Regions from separate parts of the Homo sapiens genome. Here all the other regions are linked to region 1. The links are contacts of gene promoters, found by promoter capture Hi-C in blood cells and fetal thymus (Javierre and others, 2016). All regions are on one chromosome and are shown on one strand. Each heading gives the region's core, a stretch centred on a gene start or on the middle of the fragment in contact. The rest is flanking DNA. Distances are from core to core; before and after follow the strand shown. Region 1 holds the start of RFXAP (regulatory factor X associated protein). Region 2 overlaps COG6 (component of oligomeric golgi complex 6). Region 3 has its middle 6.0 kb from the start of COG6. Region 4 overlaps PROSER1 (proline and serine rich 1).

Region 1 (2,712 bases), core at 126-2,625:
GATCATTTCCCTGGTGTAAATACTCCAAAAGTGGCTGATTTCAAGCAATCAACATGACATACTGAAGGCAGAGTTGGGAAAATGTGCAGTAACACACCACTAAATAATATTTCCGCATACAGATACAATAGACATAAATAACCTTAAAAGCACAGATAATGATAAAACATAATAAAATAATTAGAAAATGAAGAGTTTTGAGATTTGTACCCTTTGTTTTTAATATAATCTTATTGTAAGTTTATGTAGTAAGACTTTTAATAATAGCAGTGTTTAATTTTTCTGCTAATTATATTCCTGAAATTTTAGCAACCAGTTACCATCAGTTGGCGCTAGCACACCACCGACTGCAGGCTTTACTGATGAGGAAACTGAGGCTCGGAGAGGCTGTCACGAACTTGCTGTAGTCACACAGGAAGTACTACCTAGGTTGCTCTAATTCCAAACCTTCTCCCTTCCATATGCCTCTCTTTAAAACATAACTGATCTACCTATATGTCAGCACCCAAACATCTTAGTGTGAATGGATTTATAGTTTGTTGAATAAAGTCATTGCTTTCCGGTAGGTGGGATGGGAAATCTGACTAGGCGAAAGAATAGGATGAAGGGAAAAAGAACATCTACTTAACAGTTCAGGATACGGCAGGATATTTTCTCTCCTGGGATTTGGGCAAGCCAAGATTTAACAACCAGCAATTGCCCAGCAACTGATAGAACTGGTAGAACATTCATTGTTTTTTTAAACGTTTGCCATTCAGTATTCCTTTTCACACATTTTCACTGTGTTAAACGAAAACGTTAAGACTTATCTCAGCAGCCACAGCAAAGAGCAAGTACTAACAATCAAGTGAGTTTCCAGGAGAAAAAAAACAAAGTTATCCCTCAATGCAAATACAACTCGGCCAAAGGTGTGGCCCATCCCTCTCCGCTCCACTATTTTCAAATAAGCCACCTCTGCCTTCATGGACTGCGAGCTAGTGACTCTAGGCTGTGACACCACTGCATCCCAGCTTCAAATCTCCCCTTGCAGGCAGTTTGTGGGGGAAATAATAAAATTAGCATCCTAACACTACAAGTCGTGAGACCGCTCAGGAACAATCCTAATTTGCATACTGGAACTCCTGTAGAAGATACTTTGAACCGCTTTAGATACAATAGGATCAGGTAAAACGGCGCTGCCTTGCCAGCCACTGCAGGTTTTCACCTGACACAGCCCCCAGACCCTGTCTACGAATCCCCCAGCTGGCCGAAGGGGCCGCGGCCGCACATGCGCAGTCAGTCCCGTTGGTTGTGCGCTCAGCCCCGCCCCCAGAGGCGCCGCGCTCCCTGACAGCCCGCGGGCGTACACACGCTGACGCGCAGGCTGCGGTCGCGCAGGCGCAGTCGGGGCGCCTTCCCGGTATAGGCGCCTTTTACCCCAGCGTGTCCTGAGTCTTTGGTTCGCGAAGTGCCGTTAGGCCAAGCAGGTGCTAAAAGCCCGGGGTCGTGGACCCCGGCCAGGTCTTAGCAGCATGGAGGCGCAGGGTGTAGCGGAGGGCGCGGGGCCGGGCGCCGCCAGCGGCGTGCCCCACCCCGCGGCCCTAGCCCCGGCTGCGGCTCCCACCTTGGCGCCAGCCTCGGTGGCGGCCGCGGCCTCTCAATTCACCCTGCTAGTGATGCAACCCTGTGCTGGGCAGGACGAGGCTGCGGCCCCCGGGGGCAGCGTTGGGGCGGGCAAGCCCGTTAGGTACCTGTGCGAAGGGGCCGGGGATGGCGAAGAGGAGGCTGGGGAGGACGAGGCGGACCTGTTAGACACTTCGGACCCTCCGGGGGGAGGCGAGAGCGCGGCTAGTTTGGAGGATCTAGAGGACGAGGAGACTCACTCGGGGGGCGAGGGCAGCAGCGGGGGCGCCCGGAGGCGGGGCAGCGGTGGGGGCAGCATGAGCAAGACCTGCACCTACGAAGGCTGCAGCGAGACCACGAGCCAGGTGGCCAAGCAGCGCAAACCGTGGATGTGCAAGAAACACCGCAACAAGATGTACAAGGACAAGTATAAAAAGAAGAAGAGCGACCAGGCCCTGAACTGCGGTGGGACTGCCTCGACTGGCAGCGCGGGAAACGTCAAACTCGAGGTATCAGACTTAGCTGAGGCCTGGGGATGGGAGGTGGAAGAAGAAACCCGATCTTAACGCAAACCGCATCTGCAGGGCCTGCCTCCCCACTTCCAAATGGGCCGGTTTGCAGTGACTGGGTTAGTGGTTGAGAATTAGAGTGTTTGCCCTAAATTAAAGTTTATACCAACATGTGCAAAGCAATAACAGTTCTGTTGAACTCATGATAGGTGCAGAAATTTCAGTAAAAATAATGTGACATCGGCAGAGCTGTCATAGATCTGGGATATGGCTGGAAGGACATAGAGTAAATGATCGGTCTGGTTCATCGCTAAAGGAGACTTAGGAACCTAGATGAAGTTGGTACTTCTGAGAAAGTCATCTCTTTCTGTTTTCACTACTCTATTCTCAGTATCCAGTTCTCAGTACCCAGTTCTCAGTACCTCTATTTGTAATACTCCTGTATTTAGTACTTTGTTTTTAGTGTCCTGTTCTGTTAACCCTCTTCCTAGTACCGTATTTTTAGTACTGCTATACTCAGTTGCCTGTCTGTAGTACCCCTGTACGTAGTACTCTTTTCTTACAACTCTGTTCCCAGTACCCCTATGTTTAGTCCCTTGTT
Region 2 (2,712 bases), core at 71-2,570, 2.8 Mb after region 1:
CTTGTAAGCCTTAGCATTATGTGTATATTAAGAACTGAGTGTGTTCCTCCAGTGGATGAGCCTTGAAACATCTACGTATTTCATTTTATTGTGCTTTTGAGTTCCATAGAGTGATCTCATTTGTTTTAAGTCTAAATTGCAGTAAGTGGTAGTATTTGTTTTCTGAAATATAATAAAATTGGAATTTACTTATATTAGATATGTTTATAATTTTAGGCAGCAAAGGAACAGACTCAAGATTTAATAGTAAAAACCACTAAGCTTCAATCTGAAAGGTAAGTTTTTCTTCATACAACCACCTTTTCAATAATTTGGAGATTGGAGTCAAAGAAAATTATATATAACTCCAAATCAGAATTAAAGCAGAATAATAAAAAACATGGTTCATAAGGTCCTAAACTATTATATTACCCAATAGTAACTTAAGCATAAAGACAGTAGTTTAGGAGCAATAAACTTGACATTGAGGTTGAGAGATTATTCCTTCTTTGGAAGAGAGGTGATGATGTATCGTTATTGTTTGCTGTGGAGTTCAGAAATGATGCTTTTTAAAATGTAAATGTTTTCAGATTTTTAATAGTTTTATTACTTTTTTTTCACAATCATTGTCTTTTATTTTTAAGCTATGATATATCCTCTCTGGTATAATTAAGAGTTAATTGTATAAATTCTCCTTGTAGTTTATACAATAGGTATACTATTGGTTGATTGAATGAATGAGTGAGTGAGTGAATAAAGGTGAGTACAGTCTGGATTTGTGTAATGTGTGGTGTTCAGTATTGCTAAAACTCATAGCAATTATGCTAAAACTCATTAACTGCATCTCTCATGTGTGGAGTAGTATAGGGGGGGAGAAGCATTATATTATGATGCAGTATACTTGTCTCCTGCTCAGTAGTTGGGTACATCACTTAAACCTTTTAGTATTCTAGGTATTTCATCAGTAATATGGAGATATTACCACTTTAACTGCTGATTTTGGGGTAGGTCAGTATACTATAGTATAGACCACAGGTTATCAAACTATGGCCACAGGCCAAATCCAGCTCAACACCTGCTTTTGTAAATGCAGCTTTATTGGAACACAGCTATGGTTGTGTTTACATACTGTCTATGGCTGCTTTTACCCTACTGCAGTAGAGTCGTGTGGTTACAACAGAGACCATATGTGGCCTACAAAGCCTAAAATATGTACTATCAAGATTTTTACAGAAAAAGTCTGTGACTTCTGATCCAACTAGTGTTTTTTTGTAGTTCAGGTCAAGATCAATGGGTTGTAAATTATGATTTATCAATCATTACTACTATTTAAATCGATCATAGCTAGCCTTAAAAAATAAATTAGAATGAAATAAAATAGAAAATAGTTTGGGTAGCTGGGCATGGTGGTGCACACCTGAAGTCCCAGCTATTCTGGAGGTTGAGGTGGGAAGATCATTTGAGCCCAGGAGTTCAAGGTTGCAGTGGGCTATGATAGTGCCACTGCACTCCAGCCTGGGTGACAGAAGGAGATCCTGTCTCTAAAAAATAAATAAGTAAAAATAGTTTGAGTGAATATTATTTTGTGAAGCCTTTCTTTCAGTTTCAGTAATGGTTTTAAATGGTTTAATATTATGGGTCATAATCAAGAGTTTGAAAAACACTGCCCTAGACCAAAAATGGCAAGTACATGACCCCCAACTCCTTAGTTTTACATCCACTGATCTTGACATTCTTTTATTTTGAGCCCTTAATCCTTCTTAACACAATTCTCTTCAGACTAAGATTGATGAATGGGAAATTATAAAGAGTGCAGAGGTGTAAAGTTACTTGTGTAAAAGGATATCATGGGTCTTAGGGCTACAAAGGACTCAGAGATCAACTGGAATGATCCATTGCAGTTAAAATGGTAACCAATGTAACTTACTTTTCTGTCTTATAAAAACATTGAGAAAATGTGACAAAATTAGCAAAATAAAATATATGTACCAATATCATCTAAAAAATACTATCTTTAATAGCACAAAACAAAGAAAACATTTTCTTTACACGTATAGGAAGTACATTATTGGATATTGGAACATGTACCTTATCTTAGACCTGTGGCTTTCAAACCATAGTTCATTGAACCTCAGGGTTTCTTTGCAAGACGTAGAAGGATAATGGAGTTTTGGAGGTCAGATTCTCTCACCCTAATTTTAGTGAGAGCAGTTTCACTTTTACTTGTTTAATATATTAGGATTCCATGTAAGATTTTGTTTGAAAAAAGAGTTTGACAGCAGGAAAATATAAAAATATTGCACAATTTTAAGACTAGTTGAAAGGTAGAATACCAAATAAAATAGTCTTTTGATTTTATTCCTCATGCCAGAGAAAAATCTTTAAAAACAACTAAGTATCAAAGCTTTATAAAAGCTTAATCATAATTTCATGCATTTAATCCCCTTTTTGTTTACTAACTACCTTCTCTTTCACTAAAAATCCACTTTTACCCGTTGTGTGTTTTCTACAAGCCAAAATGAGAGCAAGTTGATGTTGTCCTCAGATTTATAGAATTGCAAATTGCCTGGATAGAAATTAAATTTAGGAAGTCTGGCCTTAAATTCCCTTTTATCTTGTTGATATTGTCATTCTGTATTTTATAGCTGGATAAATGATCATATCCCCCACATTGGTGGTTAATTACTTGATGTTGACCTATAAGTCAGTTTTCTAGTACTTTTCAGAGCATCT
Region 3 (2,712 bases), core at 67-2,566, 2.8 Mb after region 1:
CCCAAGATGTTGGAATAATAAGCATTAGCCACCACGCCTGGCTGAACCCTTTAGCTAAACGCCAACTTAGGTGGTAGCTGGCTGTGTTATCTGAGTTAGCCATATATCCTTGGAAAGGTTTCTTTAGTCTTGGATTACTCATCAAGAGGAGTACTAATTACATGATAATGTAATGATCCTTATGTTTCAGGGTAGCTGTGAAGATAAAAATAGTGTATAATAAATTCTAGCACAGAGCCTGATTTTCAATAAACATAGTTGCTAAATAACGGGAGCTACTATTATCAACACAATGAAAGATGTCGAAGGCTGAAAATTCTATGACTCACTAGACATAGCCGTAATAAATGCCATATTATATTTTGATGAAGCCACAGTAACCAATACAAAGTGACTTCCTCTTATTTCAGAAGCCAAAGGGCAAGAAAGCTTAACCATCTAAAGCAATGGTGTCCAATCTTTTGGCTTCCCTGGACCACACATAAAATACACTAACACTAATGATAGCTGAAGCTCTAAAAAAATTGCAAAAAATCCATAATGTTTTCAGTGAGTTTACAAATTTGTGTTGGGCAGAATTCAAAGTTGTCCTGGGCCATATCCATGCAGTCTGTGGGCCTCAGGTTGGACGAGCTTGATCTAAAGGAGAGGAATAGGAACTTGGAGAGGCCCTCCTTTCAACCTTTTCTTTTTTTTCTTTCTTTTCTTTGTTTTTTTTTTTTTGTTTGTTTGTTTTTAGATGGAGTCTTGCTCTGTCGCCCAGGCTGGAGTGCAGTGGTGTAATCTCGGCTCACTGCAACCTCCGCCTCCCAGGTTCAAGCAATTCTCCTGCCTCAGCCTCCCTGGTGACTGAGATTACAGGTGCGCACCACCATGTCTGGCTAATTTTTGTATTTTTAGTAGAGACAGGGTTTTACCATGTTGGCCTCGAACTCTTGACCTCAGGTGATCTGCCCACCTTGGCCTCCCAAAGTGCTGGAGTTACAAGGGTGAGCCACCACATCTGGCCTCAATCATTTCTTAGAAGGTAAGAATCTCCACATTTCAGTCTACTGCATGGTTCTTCTGTCATTTTCTTTTAAATCCTTTGCTCTTTTACATGCGTGTATTTGTTCTCCTATTAAATTGAAATGTTTAGGTCAAAGCATATCTTTTAATTATTTTAATGTTCTACTACTTTATGGAGCTTACTATAAACAATTATCTTTCACATTTTCACTAAAAAACGTTACTTTCAAAAATATATGGATACATACACACACACGTATCTGATGAGGCACACCTGAAAATTTATTTTAACTCTTGACAAATATTGATTTTAAGCTCTTAACAATTTATAATTAACCTCATAAAAACATACTTAAGTAAGCATTTAAAACATAAAATAATTTCCCTGTTTTCATGCTACCACATATTATTTTAATTCATGAATTATCTCATTTACTTTTTTACAATTGTTAATTCAGAGAATTAGAAATAAACAAGAAAAGTGGGTCATGGTTACTCTACCTTAATAACCTCTGTTAATATATTTAGTAATACATGAATAAGACTAGACAATTTCAATCAGTTTAGAAAGGTACAAAATGGAAAATGGAAGCCTTCCTTCCACTGGAATGCCATCCTGAAAAAAAATCTAAATTTATATGTATCTCTCCATTTCGTGCACGTAAGTGATCTCATCATACATACATAATATAGCTTGCTTTTTCACAGAGTATATTGTGGAATTATTTCCATGTTAGCATTTAAATCTCCTTCATAGCAGATAACACTTGCATAGTATTCTGCTGAATGAATGAGTGCATGATAGTTTATTTGTTCAGTCCTGTATTGATAGACACTCTGGTTGTCTCTCTTTCCTCCTCCCTCCCTTAGTCTCTCCTTCCTTCCATCCTTTCTTTCTCTCTCTCTCTCTTTCTGCTTTTCTCCCTTCCTTCCTTCCTTTCTCTTTCTTTCTCTCTCTATCTCTATTTTTCTCTCTATTACAAACCATGGTAGATAAATATCTTTGTTCATATACTGTGGGAAGTTTTTGCATTATATCCATAGTAAATGCCTAACAGGAAGAGTGCCATGTTATGAGGACACTCAGATAGCCCTGTGGGAGGGACCATTTGGTGAGAAATTGAGCCTCATTTTAGTAAGTAGCATATGCCAGCCATGTGAGTGAGCCACCTCGAAGTGAATCCTCCAGCACCAATTAAGCTTTCAGATGACTGCAGTCCTAGGTAATATCTGATTGCAGCTTCATGAGAGACCCTGAGCCTAAACCGCCTAGCCAAGTCACTCTTGATTTCCTGACTGACAGAAGTTATGATTTTTTTTAATATACTAGTTTTGGGGAAATATGTTAAGCAATATCAGATAACTAAAATACTTACGGCTTGGAACAGTGGTTGTCAACCCCGGACAATTTTGCCCCTCAGGGACATTGGCAATGTCTGGAGACATTTTGATCGTTCCAACTGGGGAGGATGCTACTGGCATTTAGTAGGTAGAGGCCAGTAATGCTGCTAAACATCCTACAGTGAACAGAATAGTTCCCAACAACAACAAAATATGCAGCCCCAAATGTCAATGGTGCCAAAGTTAAGAAATCCTGAATCCTAGAATAACTTAAATAACATTGGAATCAATTTTTTTTTTTTAAAACATAAGGTCTCACTCTGTCGACCAGGCTGGTGTGCAGTGGCATGATCTCGGCTCACT
Region 4 (2,712 bases), core at 112-2,611, 2.2 Mb after region 1:
CACCTCTGTTACTCTCCTGAAAGAAGACAAGCAAAATTTGCAAATTTGGAGAGAAGTAATCATCATCAAATCTCTATGCATTCTGCTAAGAGCCATTTTTTGCCAATGTTGGGATATCGCAAATGATACTGCAATGTTATCACTACAGAAGTTAGTTATACATGTTACCATGTAATTTATGCCAGCCATTGCTGCTTACCTGCTGTAACAATGCTGACTGCGCAGCCGCATTATGCTGTAATTCTTGCAAGGATGATTGTGAAGGATTCTGAGGAAACCCAGGGATACCCGGGAGGGACAAAAGGCCTGGAAAAACAGAACTGCCTGCAGCTTGAAGTCCAGATGATAAACTAAAACAATTGACAGAAAAACAAGTTAACTGCAGACAAGACATAAAAGCTACTGTTTCCATATTTGTCAAATACAATCTTAAAATGTTAAAAACAAAACAAAAACCTTAGAATTTATTCCTCTGTTGGAAGGACCATAAAAATCAGCCATTCCCTGATATGAATCTTTCTACTGTGAAGTATATTATTCGAAATTCAGTAAGTCTGTTTTGCATATAATCCTTTCTGCTGTCTTATAAATAAAACTATCAAATACAAATCCAAACATTGTATCAACAGGCATTAATATTTTATACATTTATCTTAACATGGTTCATAAAACATTTCAGAGTGCTAAAGTTTTCACCCAGAAAAACATCATTTAGATTTTGACATTCATTTTGATGACTTGAAATGAAATGTGAACTACAAGTTAGGTGAAGAATAATTTTATCCTATTTCCAAACTATCCACATACCCGGCTTGTGCAACAAGAGCGGAGTTGAAATTGGAACTGAATGCTGAGGCGAATCCTGGGAGGACTGGAGCTGGGGATGGGGCTGTGGCAGCCACAGGTAGTGGTGTGACAGCTGCGACTGTAGAGGGCGCCTGCAGCCCCGGGAATGAGGGAAGAGCAGGGGTAACGCTTGGGGTATTAGAGACAGAAAAGCCTGGATAGGAGGGATTTGAAGATGACAGAGGTCCTTGAGTAACAGAGAAAAGTGAGGGAACAGCAGTGGACAGGTTGAGGGGGAAAGGTGCTGCTGAGACTGGTGCTGAAGCAGAAAGCCCTGAGAGAACAGCTGCCGTTGAGCTAGGATGAGGGAGAGATGTGGAGGTGGCAGCGGTAGATGAGGTGGCTATTAATGACCCTGGGAGAGATACTGACGGATTAAGAGATGGGTTGCCAGTTAAAGGAAAATTGTTGGTCAAAGAAGTAAAAGAAGGAAGAGCAGTGAATACTGGTGCAATGGGAGTGGAGGAACCATGTGGTGGAAGGGAAATAGAGGAAAGAGGATTTGAACCATTTAAAGGAGTACTCAAGCTGGAGAGACCTGACAATGCAGGATTAAGGCAAGCAGATAAACTGATGGGCACGGATGTTGAAGTATATGCACGGCCCAATGTCCCTGACAAACCTAAAGTGCCATGAGAGGGATTCCCAGAATGAGATGGACCTTTGAAGGCCGAGGGAGTAGGACTTGTGGGCTCAGTTTTGATCATAACAGGAAGAGTTGTTGCAGCAGGGGTAGATGAAATATGCAGATCTGAGGTACCTGGGTGGGGGCCACGCAAAAGGGAGGCTGAGGAGCCACAGCTAACTGGCACTGACGTGGAAGCTGATGCAGCAGTGGCTAAAGGAGACTGTACAGGCAATGTCAGGGGAGTGGAAGTTGAGTTAGCCACGGGAGACGGCAGGCCTGGGAACAGGGCCAACCCTGGAGTGGAAGTCCTCTGTGGGGTAGGGATGGCTGATGGGGCATAGCACTTGTTAGGGGCTGAAGCAGAAGAGTCAGAGTTCTGAAGAGTAAGAGAAGATAGTGAAGCCAGCCCACTTGTGACAGCAGAGGATAAAGCAGAGGAGTTGATTAAATTGGTGTCATTGGATGTCAGAAAACCTTTTAACGCAGACAAAAGAGGACTGTTCACACCAAGTGGACCGGCAACGCTGGGAGTAGAGCCACCAGCAATTACAGGAGTCGGGTTGGATAGGCCTTGGGATGTTGGTGGTAAGGGCAAAGGGAGCCCTGCAAAAACTGATGACAATGAAGCAGAATTTGGGTTGCTGGTAGAAGCAGCAGAAGAGCTGGTGGAAAAGGGGAGGCTAGTGAAAGGTGCAGAAGTAGAAGCAAATGCTTCACTGGAACCAAGAGTGGACCGTGGTGTAGGTCCTGGGGTAGGAGTGGCTGCGGTAGGAGTGGCAGAAGGACCTGGCAGTGACACTAGGCCAGAAAAAATGGAAGGAACAGGAGTGGTGGTTGTACTGTGGATGGATGTAACAGGTGCAGTGGGCAATGAAGGGGTTCTGATAACTGTTGGGTTTGGTATTGATGGCTGAGGTGTGTGAACGGCTGAGGAGACCTGCCCTGGGAACACAGGAAGGACAGTATTCAGCAGGTTCATTCCAGAAACGGTGGCAGCTGCTGATGCTGATGGATGATTAATTGCCTTGACTGGGGATGCAGTAGGAACAGGAGTTGCAGCAGGTGTTGAAGGATTAGAACCATGAGGAGAAAAGAGTTGACTTGCTGGGGTGGAAAATGCTATATGGAAGGGGGAAAAAAGGCAAGAATGTATCATCATGCTGAAACGTCAAATTTTGAATTAAAAAGCATAACCATTTTTGTAATATTTAACAAATACCAAATAAAAAATGACAAGT

Evidence for each region. The method cuts DNA at HindIII sites, captures the fragments that hold promoters and counts their contacts. A CHiCAGO score of 5 or more calls a contact.
Region 2: a fragment that was not itself captured here is called in contact with the fragment with the promoter of RFXAP in region 1 in 1 of 17 cell types (total CD8 T cells); the score reaches 5.4 in total CD8 T cells.
Region 3: a contact is called between a fragment that was not itself captured here and the fragment with the promoter of RFXAP in region 1, in 1 of 17 cell types (total B cells). The highest score is 5.5, in total B cells.
Region 4: a contact is called between a fragment that was not itself captured here and the fragment with the promoter of RFXAP in region 1, in 3 of 17 cell types (naive CD8 T cells, activated CD4 T cells and total B cells). The highest score is 8.7, in naive CD8 T cells.

What each region holds. Positions count from the first base shown.
Region 1 is chr13:36,817,847-36,820,558 of GRCh38, forward strand. It overlaps RFXAP (regulatory factor X associated protein), which reads left to right and starts at 1,376. Exons shown (of 3, transcript NM_000538.4): 1 at 1,376-2,111. The coding sequence starts at 1,512. It overlaps LOC124903158 (a long non-coding RNA gene), which reads right to left and starts at 1,225. Exons shown (of 2, transcript XR_007063760.1): 1 at 321-1,225. RefSeq lists a silencer at 1,294-1,663 and enhancers at 1,894-1,943, 1,954-2,183. The HindIII fragment of the contact is 8,641 bases long and covers 1-2,712 here.
Region 2 is chr13:39,664,880-39,667,591 of GRCh38, forward strand. COG6 (component of oligomeric golgi complex 6) reads left to right here. Exons shown (of 19, transcript NM_020751.3): 4 at 217-275. Among named protein-coding and RNA genes, the nearest start is that of MIR4305, 2.1 kb to the left of the region's middle. The HindIII fragment of the contact is 2,122 bases long and covers 260-2,381 here.
Region 3 is chr13:39,648,316-39,651,027 of GRCh38, forward strand. No RefSeq gene overlaps it. Among named protein-coding and RNA genes, the nearest start is that of COG6, 6.0 kb to the right of the region's middle. The HindIII fragment of the contact is 1,779 bases long and covers 428-2,206 here.
Region 4 is chr13:39,011,884-39,014,595 of GRCh38, forward strand. PROSER1 (proline and serine rich 1) reads right to left here. Exons shown (of 13, transcript NM_025138.5): 11 at 808-2,593; 12 at 200-350. Among named protein-coding and RNA genes, the nearest start is that of STOML3, 22 kb to the left of the region's middle. The HindIII fragment of the contact is 2,959 bases long and covers 1-2,712 here.